Linked DNA regions of Homo sapiens: region 2 is linked to region 1. Evidence: promoter capture Hi-C in 16 types of primary human blood cells and fetal thymus (Javierre and others, 2016). All regions are on one chromosome and are shown on one strand. The core of a region is centred on a gene start or on the middle of the fragment in contact, and the rest is flanking DNA. Distances in the headings are between cores, read along the strand shown.

What was found. Contacts are between HindIII fragments. The CHiCAGO score rates a contact against its expected background, and 5 or more counts as called.
Region 2: a fragment that was not itself captured here is called in contact with the fragment with the promoter of APLP2 in region 1 in 1 of 17 cell types (total B cells); the score reaches 6.7 in total B cells.

The regions. Positions count from the first base shown.
Region 1 is chr11:130,068,553-130,073,605 of GRCh38, reverse strand. It overlaps APLP2 (amyloid beta precursor like protein 2), which reads right to left and starts at 3,712. Exons shown (of 17, transcript NM_001142276.2): 1 at 3,524-3,712. The coding sequence starts at 3,628. It overlaps LOC107984432 (a long non-coding RNA gene), which reads left to right and starts at 3,957. Exons shown (of 2, transcript XR_001748444.2): 1 at 3,957-4,142; 2 at 4,493-5,053. RefSeq lists silencers at 2,824-3,283, 3,354-3,483, 3,874-4,103 and enhancers at 4,020-4,520, 4,521-5,021. The HindIII fragment of the contact is 4,769 bases long and covers 2,271-5,053 here.
Region 2 is chr11:125,593,094-125,598,146 of GRCh38, reverse strand. It overlaps STT3A (STT3 oligosaccharyltransferase complex catalytic subunit A), which reads right to left. Exons shown (of 18, transcript NM_152713.5): 2 at 2,144-2,266; 3 at 1,028-1,088. The coding sequence starts at 2,231. Among named protein-coding and RNA genes, the nearest start is that of STT3A, 2.8 kb to the right of the region's middle. The HindIII fragment of the contact is 2,242 bases long and covers 2,177-4,418 here.

The sequences.
Region 1 (5,053 bases), core at 2,463-4,962:
CTCCCAAAGTGCTAGGATTACAGGCGTGAGCCACCGCGCCTGGTGATTAAAGTTATTTCTAAGTAAAACATTTTTAATTGAAAAAGTTTAAAAATCAACACATTCAAAATTGTTCTAACAAAAATACTTAAGAGCATGTTGGGCCAACTTCCAGCAAGACTTTATGTGGAAAAATATAGGAACATATTAAAAAATTCTGCTAATAAAAACATATGCAGGACCAACTTTAAGCAAAATTTTAAATCAGCACCATCTAACAGAAATACAATGTGAGCCACATACATAGTATTAAATTTTCTAGGAACCATATTAGAGTGAAAAGAAACAAGTGAAATTAATTTTAATGTTTTATTTAGCCCATGTCTAAAGTATTGTTTCAATTTAGTCAATACAAAAATTGAGATTTTAATTCTTCTGTATTAAATCTTCAAAATCTGATGTGTATGTTACACTTCCAGTACATCTCAATTCAGAAGCTAAATTTTCATAGGAAATACTTGATCTACATTTAGATTTCATAAAATGTACAGTTTAAAAGTAAATTCGCATAACCAAATTATTTCAGTTAAAAGTTTTCCAACCACTGAATCAGATTTTAAATGTAAACTTAAATTAATTAAAATTAAATAAAATGAAAAATTCACTCCTCATTCACACTAGTCACCCTACAGACTCAATAACCACATGTGGCTTGTGGCTACACCCTGGGAAAGCCTGGCTTTAGATGGTAAAACAAATTCCCTCTACAAAAGGAGGAACTAATTGATAAAACTGAAGTTTATCGTATTTATCAAAAGATTTTTAAAACATAGTTATGATAAAAATAACGGGCCGGGCGCTGTGGCTCACGCCTGTAATCCCAGCACTTTGGGAGGCCGAGGCAGGTGGATCACCTGAGATCAGGTGTTCCAGACCAGCCTGGCCAACATGGTGAAACCCTGTCTCTACTAAAAATACAAAAATTAGCTGGGCGTGGTGGCAGGCGCCTGCAATCCCAGCTACTTGGGAGTCTGAGGCAGGAGAATCGCTTGAACTCGGAAGGCGGAAGTTGCAGTGAGCCCAGAGATCCCACCATTGCACTCCAGCCTGGGACAGAGCGAGACTCCGTATCAAAAAAAAAAAAAAAAAAAAGACGATATTCCTATCAGAAGCACACCAAGGTTTCTCTCCAAGGTACAATTACACATCTCCCATACCACCTGTCAGAAACACCAACACAAAGCCTTCTCTACTCTGCCTCAGTTGACATCCTTTAATTTGGGTTTGAGTTTCCAGAAAACTGGCAATCAAATGGCCTTCTTTCTTTCAAATGTGACAGAACAAACTCAAGTTCCGGTTCTCAGGAGCCTAGTCATCCACTGCACAGTATGCGGGGTTTCAGCACAATACTGTCTCAGTCCCAAATGGGAGCATGCACACAGGAGAACTTGTCTCGGATTTAAGAGAGGAAGTGACCCTGAGTCCAGAGGTGAGCTTTTTCTTTTTAAACAGGTGTAAGAGATTAATTCAGTCAACACCAAGCAACACTAAAGATTTGCCAATCAATAATTCTGTGCCAAGCAACTTGATCAGGGATTTGGCCAGAATCCCTTTCGCTAATCTCAATCAGGGCCTTCCCAAAGACATCCTGATTTAGGCCACTCTCATCTAAATTAAGCTTCGACAGTCCCTTGCCTGACAGCAAATAAACAAAATCAAATTATATTCATATGAATAAAATTCTGATAGCTTGACAAAAGGCCCCTTGAAAGATCATTTAGTAAGTGTGAGCAAAAATACAGCTCCAAAGAACAGGAGTTACCATAAAACCATTTTTCAGAAATGTTTAATTCCTACTTTCTTCAACCATACTTTTCAACTGAACAACGCTGTGGCTAACAATCAAATTTAACACACAACAATGAATTCTCATATTATTTTTTCCCGCTACACAAGTATTAACGAATTCTTTAAAACTGCTGAGTCTTCTACTGTGAATTCACTAATGCCTCAAATTAGTCATAGCAGTGGGAAGTGGAGTGCGAGTGTGAACGATGGTTTCTGACACCCGACCCACTAGTGAAGTCCCATCTTCCATACGAAAGCCTTTATTTTTTCTTCCCATCTCACTCACCTAGCTGTTTTCATGCGACATATCAGGGATCACAGATACAACTCTGACCATTGTGTGGACACACTGAAACAATCGCAATCCAAAATCCTCTGTAGATAAACGTTAACTATTTCTCTTTAAAGCTGAACTCCTTTCTTACCCTCACAGTCACAAAGCTTTAAACTGGATGAATACAAAGGTGTTAAGCCGTTCCATCAGAGAGGCTTTTTATTAGATTTATTTTTACCCGTGGAAATACTTGAACATTCTGTAGAAGTAAATATATTCTAAACCTGAGGTCTTTAAAAGAAAGCTCTCAATTAATGCCCAATCAAATCCAGTCTTCAGGTCTCTCTGAAATTAGCTAAGTATGCAGAAACCAGTTGTAATTTTTAAAAGAGCGAAGAGGGAGAAGAAATAAACGACACCAGAACTACACATTCCAGACCAGCAGTTCAAGCACCACTTCGAGAAGGGAAGTAAAGATCAAGCTCGCCGTCTCCCTCGGCCACAGCAGGGCTCCTCCAAGGCTGCCCGCTCCGGCCCGCACCGCGGACCCCGCCGCCCCCGCCCCCTCCCGCGGCCTCCCCAACCCCCGGCCCTGCCGCTTCGCCTTTCTCGCAGCGGGGATGCTCAGGGTGCGACCTCGAAGCACAACCACTGATGGAATTCTGACACCCGAAGAGGACGATTTTTCCAACAGTTTACACGCCTTCGCGGGCACCTTCCCTACTCACTGAAACCCTCACGAAAGCGGTCAACGCACCCAGAGCGGGTTTCCTCGGTCTACGGACGCAGGCAAACAGCGCCACTTAAAAAATGCGCGTCCGCGACCCGGCCCCAGGCGGCAGAGGGAGCAGCGGGCGGCCTGGCGCGGGAGCTCCCCCGGGGCTCGCAGCATCCCTGCCGCGCGCGAAGGCCGGGGCCGCGTCCACCTGGCAACAAAGGCGAAGCCCGCCGCTCGCAGGTGGGAGGCCCGGAGCCGAGGCCCCGGTGCCGCGCGAGGGAGCGTACGGGGTCCGCGCGGGGCCGCCCCTGGAGAAAGCCCAGCCGCGGACTCCGGCGGGAGAGGAGCGCCCTGGCATTGTCCCGGGGGAGGGCGGGGCGGGCGCCCGGGGGCACTGGGTCCCCGGAGGAGGTGGCGGCGCCGCGGGCGGGTTGGGGGCTGGGTCGGCCGAGGCGGACGGCCGCCCCCAGCAGCCCCGACGCCTTTCATTTGGCCTCTGCGGCGGCTGAGGCAGCCCGACCTCCAGCGCTAAGCACTGCGCCAAGCAGGGACGGGCGGGGGAGGGCGCGCCAGACCCGCCGCAGAGCCGGACCCCCGGCGCCGCACCGCCGGCCCGCCCTGCCGCGGACCCCGCTGCCCGCCCGCAGTCCGCGCTCCTCCGGCGGGCGAAGGAGACGACTCTCCGGCGTTCGCCCGGTCCCCACCTCGATGTAGCCGGCCAGCGCCAAGGCAGGCGCCGTGAGCCCCACCAGCAGCAGAAGCAGGAGCCTGCCCGTGGCTGCGGCGGCCGCGGTCCCGGTGGCCGCCATCCCTCGCCGGGTCGCTCTAGCGCGCGGCTCTCAAGCTCACACACTCGGACTCCTCGCTTAGCACACCGCGACCCAGAAGCATCTAAAGCCAGTTCGCCGCCGCCCCGGGGGTTTTACACCAACCGGAACTGACTTCATATTACCACGCCCTCCTTCTGCGGCTCCCAATGCCGGCCCGCAGAACCCCTCAAGACCCCGCCCCCTTGCGGTCCAGACCCAATCAGGAGATGGAAGAGCCTGCTCCTCCCGCCCGGTCCAACCGCGCGCCCCCCGCCCGGCCCCGCCCCCGGCCGCGGATGGCCCCGCCCCCGCTCCGGACCCTGTGGCCGCCAGGCGCGGGGGCGTGCGCGCGGCGGGTCTGGGGCCGCAACCCTGTGGGCGCGGGGCTGGCTCTGGCCTCCGCCCCCCGGCGCGGTTATCTGTCCCTGCTGCGCTGGTCCGTCAGCCTTCAGCCTCCCGATACGGGCACGCCCCGCTCCCCTGCCCCTGCTGGGCATTCTTCAGACTCCTTTGGGTACCGCCCTCTTTTTGATTCTGGAAATGGTTTTATTAAAAACAGGATGAATTAGGAGTCCGGGACGGTCTGCCAAGGGCCGTCCCCCGAGGCAGGGGGAGGACCGCAGGAGGCAGCCATCGTCCTCCCCCGAGCCCTACTCAGGGCGCGCCTCTCCCGCCCTGCTCCGCCCAGGCCTCTCCGCCGGGTCCTCGCCTCTGAGTCCGGCCGCGCTCCGCACCCTTGGCCTCCGGTCTTTAGGCCTCTTGCCGACCCTTCCTTCCCAGCAGTTGCCCAGGCAGGGATAGAGACCAGGGGTGCAAGAACCACGCCGGCCTCACAGCCCAGGCCCCCTTCCTCGTGTGTTTTAGGAAGAGATCACGCCGCTTCTTCGGTTGAGACGCACTAGCGGGAGACCTGCTACTCTGCCTTCCTGCTCCGCGGCATTGCCACTTCAGTAGAGAAAAACGTCCTGCTGCCCCATTTAGCAATTGGCACAGCCTCGCCACCGCCAGGGCTCCGCTGGCCTTGTTTCCTTTCAGTCGCCTGTGAGTTAGGTACTGCCTTCTGAGAGACCTGGACTAGTCCCTTCAGGTTCAACTAAATGCATAACACAACCCTACCCCCAGGACGCTGACAATAGAAAGGAAGAGACTGTCCGCGGAGTAGACGAGTGCGCCTGTAAGAACTCGGGATTTTCCAGCCTTATTCTGCACCACTCTCCCCTACATGCCCAGTTCCCTGTGGGTAAACTGGCTCTGCCCGATTCCTCCAAGACGACACCTTTCCATTTCACAGCCCTTCCTAACACTCTTCTGCGCCTGCAATGTCCTCTCCCCAACATCTGCCTGTTGGAAGCGTTTTCACTGTTCCTCGGCTCAGTCGGCTGAAATATCGCTTCTGATTGCTCAGAGGGATGTTTCCCACTGTGG
Region 2 (5,053 bases), core at 2,048-4,547, 4.5 Mb after region 1:
TCCACCTCCTGCGTTCAAGCGATTCTCCTGCCTCAGTCTCTAGAGTAGCTGGGATTACGGGCACATGCCACCATGCCCAGCTAATTTTTGTATTTTTAGTAGAGATGGGGTTTTACTATGTTGGCCAGGCTGGTCTCGAACTCCTGACCTTGTGATCTGCCCGCCTTGGCCTCCCCCAGTGCTGGGATTACAGGCGTGAGCCACCGTGCCCAGTGGAGTCTCCTCATTTCTAAGAAGGGAATAATAGTACCTACATCTCAAAGGGTTGCTGAAAGGATTTAGAGATAATCTGTAAATTAGTGCTTGGAACAAAATGAATGCTTAGTAAATACTAGTTATTAATACCACTAAGGAATTCCACTATATCTTTTTCATCTAATGAACAAAATTCCTTATCAAACTGATAACTTTGAGTTTTTTCATTGCCCTAGAATTTAACTAAGAAGCCCAATTTCTATCACATAAATTGCTAAACAAACAAACAAACAGCAAAATGTCATGAATCTCAAGTCCATTGTTTGTGATTCTCTTCTGAGCCTGGAATACACACCAGGACCCTTTCCTTCAATCTGCATCACAAACTTTTACCAAACTGGGCAGCCAGAATTCTCTTAGCCTAGCCAGATCTTAAGTGATAGGCAGACATACTAGCAATGCCTCTCACATTTTTTGAGTTTCAGAGACTTACTTGGTCAATTCCAACACATACTTTTTTTTTTTTTTTTGTAGAGATGGGGTTTCACCATGTTGCCCAGGCTGGTCTTGAACTCCTGAGCTCAAGTGATCCCTCCACCTCAGCCTCCCAAAGTGCTGGGATTACAGGTGTGAGCCACTGTGCTGGACTCCAACACATACGTCTTAAAAGGAGATAATTATCTCCTTTGGAAGAATTTAAGGGTTTTTTTTTCCCTTAAATGTACTGAAAGCACATCTCTATCACTGAGAGCTGACTGAAATTTGAATCTGAAACCCATGAACCTGAATGCCTCCCAAAGGAAATAATACCAGATCAAGCAAAGGTACTCACGGATCAAACTCATGGATAACACTTTCAAATCTCAGGACAGCAAACAGACGAGTGGAGAAGGCTGCAAAAACCAGAGAGTTAATATTTTATTGGTAATGTGCCATGAAAGAACAGCAGATATAGTATTATAATGAAGACAGTATTATCCAGTAGAGAGGTCACAGAAAATATAAAATAATCCCTGAATAAAGTCTTTATCCATCTTTCCCCACATAAAGGAAACAAGAGAAGTTTACTTTCCCCTGACAATGGCATCTACATTTTCCACTTTCATAGGTCACAGTTAACTAATTATAAAAGCCTATAACATTACATTCACCTACTAATACCAAACTCAACTTACATGGTCATCTTTTATATACGCTGACTCCCCCACCATACACACATAACTAACCTTAACCTTGGAGCAAAGTAATAGGTATGGCAAGCAAAATTACACCTAGGACTCATGAAGAGCCAGAAAATCTAAAATACAGAGTAAACTCTCAAGAGACTTTCAAAAATACTATAGGAGACATCTAAATTGAAGATAATTGTCTTTTACAAAAATCAGTTATCCAAGGGTCCCCAATATCACTTTCAACCCTATGAGAAAACAGAATTGGCACAGCATGCTTCCCATTCTTTCAAAGATGATCACAGCCCTCTTTTTTTTGAGACAGAGTCTTGCTCTGTTGCCCAGGCTAGAGTGCAGTGGTGCAATCTCGGCTTACTGCAACCTCTGCCTCCCAGGTTCGAGCGATTCTCGTGCCTCAGCCTCCCAAGTAGCTGGGAATACAGGCATCCACCACCACACTCAACTAGTTTTTGTATTTTTAGTAGAGACAGGGTTTCATCATGTTGGCCAGGCTGGTCTCAAACTCCCAGCCTCAAGTGATCCACCCACCCCAGCCTCCCAAAGTGCTGGGATTACAGGCGTGAACCACTGCATGTGGCCCATAGCCCTGACTTTTATATTCCTTTTATTTTGCCTTCATAAAATTATACTAATGAGGAATGGAAAAATGTAACAATCTGCTAAAAAGAACAAGGCATTTTAAGATAGCGATTTTCAATTTTTTTCTAGACTTTCTTCTTTCTATCCCCAAAGAAAGAGAGGTTCACATGCACACTCACATAATACAGCAGCCATTGACAGAATGAGAAGCTTCAAAAGTGTGTCCTGCTTCTCATAGGACAATCGCAAAAATCCAAACTTAGTCATCTTGACATGAATGGGTGGCAACACACGACGATCAGCTAAAATGAAAAAGTCAAGACCACAAGATATTGAACACCTTCAATTTACTTAATTTTCATATTTTATGATGAGAGGGAATCATAAAGGACGTAGGAGCTAGCAAAAACACCAGACAGGGTCAAGGCTAATACTAGTATCCAAGCCTGGCCTAAAGTATGATCAACTTGCAAGGAAGTAGGCACAAGTCAGGTCTATGTGTCAAGACTAAAATGGAGTGGTCAGAATAAACCATCCATAATTCTATTTCCCACTCCTTCACAGCTAACAAGTACATAAGCACAATTAGCAATAGTATAGCACAAGGAAGAGATGAAAAAATAAACAGGAAAGATTGGAAATACTGAAAAATAATAAAATGGAGAAAGAGAGCACTCAAGAAAAGGCAGGACTATATGGGGTGGCAGGGGCGGAGGGGGGGAAGCAGGAAATAAACATTGAGACCAGAAGTGCAAGCCCCAGCAATTTCAGAGGCTAAGGAGGGAGGATCGCTTGAAGCCAGGAGTTCAAGACCAATCTGAGCAATACAGCAAAACCCCATCTCCACAAAAAACTGTTTAAAATTATGCAGGCTTGGTGGTCTGCACCTGCAGTCCCAGCTACTCAGGAGGCTGAGGCAGGAGTTGGAGGCTGCAGTGAGCTAGGATCACACCACTGCACTCCAGCCTGGACAATAGAGCCAGACCTCCTCTCTTTAAAAAGGAAAAAAAAAAAAAAAGAAGAAGTGAAAGGCATTAAGAGGAAAAATAGAAGTCACGACTGAATCAACACAATTTCGAGCCCTAAATTTAAACTTCAACTGAATGGCTATAAACTTTTTTCTTTTCCAAATCCCAATGGGGCTGTCGGGTCAACTAACAGCATACCTGATAACTAATGCAGGTACAATCATGCACTCAAAAAGAGGTGGAGGTACCCAAACACAGATCCACTGTGTTCTCATCCCATATATCAGACTGTAACGACTGCTCAGATCTATACCCGCTTCCAATCATCTGTCTCAAGGCTTCTCTGTAACTGACAATGCTGATTTAAGAGACTGATTAAATTACACAGACAGTTTGATGGCATCAGATGATAATCTAGAGGGAAAGAAAACGAATTTTTCCTACTGAAGCAGAAGAGTCGGGGGATTAAAAAAAGTAGATTAAAATGTTGAGGGACACTATCTGTAGGCAGTTCAAAATGGAAATCACATGACAGATATGAATTATTTATATAGCAATATAGCACTAATCTACCATAGGTTAGTTATTCTTGTATAAGACAGTACTACTATCTTTTTTTTTTTTTTTTTTTTGAGACGGAGTCTTGCTCTGTCGCCAGGCTAGAGTGCAGTGGTGCCATCTCGGCTCACTGCAACCTCCATCCACCTCCTGGGTTCAAGCGATTCTTCTGCCTCAGCCTCATGAGAAGCTGGGACTACAGGTGTGCGCCACCACGCCCAGCTAATTTTTGTATTTTTAGTAGAGACGGGGTTTCACCATGTTGGCCAGGGTGGTCTGGATCTCTTGACCTCATGATCTGCCCACCTCAGCCTCCCAAAGTGCTGGGATTACAGGCGTGAGCTACCACGCCCAGACCTACTTTTTTAAATTACAAGGTGATCAAGAGCTAAGTTATAACGACTATAACAAAGGATATGCAACACCATTCAAGATGTTTTGCTTTTATTCTTTTTGACTGACACATAATTGTACATATTTATGGAGTACAGTGTGACATTTTGGTACATGTATATAATGTGTAATGATCAAGTCGGGAAATAATTAGTAGATTCATCACCTTATTTTTTTTGTCTTAGGAATATTCAAAATCCACTCTTCTAGCTATCTGAAAATATACAACAAATTGTGTATTTTTGTTGTTAATTATACTCCTAATAATAGTTATCCTATAGAACACTAGAATTTATTCCTATCTAGTTGTACTTGTGTATCCCTTAACAAACGTTTGTCTATCCTCCTCCATGAATCTTTTTTCCCACTATTATTGGAATAAAGGAGAAAAACAAAACAACAACAACACTGGACTAGGTGGAAGGCATATAGAATGCTAGCCCCAACACTGAGAAGTCAAGCATGTTCTCCATAATTAACTGTCCCAGAAGAGCAGTTTAGAAATGTGTTTAAGTATAGTCCCAAAGGGAAAGCTTACTTTGCAACTAAAAATAAAGGCCTAACTACTCCAGGAGGTCAACAATCCAGCCATATCTCTCAGGGTTTGCAGCTGTTTTCTGGAATGCCTGAAATAGGAACAAACTTAACACCACTGCGTTGATACGAGCCACACACCAAAATGAGACTGCTAGGATCTCTACTTGAAAACTTGAGTAAACGAGCTAGTCATTGAGGGCAGGGCCGTAAGGGAGATTTCATCTCGTGCTCTTTGGTCACTTTCGCACACCGCCAAGCAAATAAGAGCAAAGACACCTTTCTTAAAACACTTACCAACCTGCTCTCCTCAACTGTGCCCTGCAAGCTGTGGCATCTCCTGCCACCCTGCCTCTAGTTTCCCAGACTGCAATTTCCCCAGCCCCGTTTTCCTACACACGTTTCCACACCCTCTCACGATCTTTTACTCTCTTCTCCCTTCCGGTCGTTCCAGCGGGTCCCACCTCCCTCTTCTTCCCACCCTCAAAGAACTGACCACCTCTGATACCCCTCAGCGCGGGACACTCATCACCCCAGCATCCTACGCGCCTTCCCCTCCATAACTAGTCCCAGGACCCAGTCTTTCCCACGCTCTGTTCTCAAGACCCACCTTACCCTCCCTCCCTAGACCTTCGC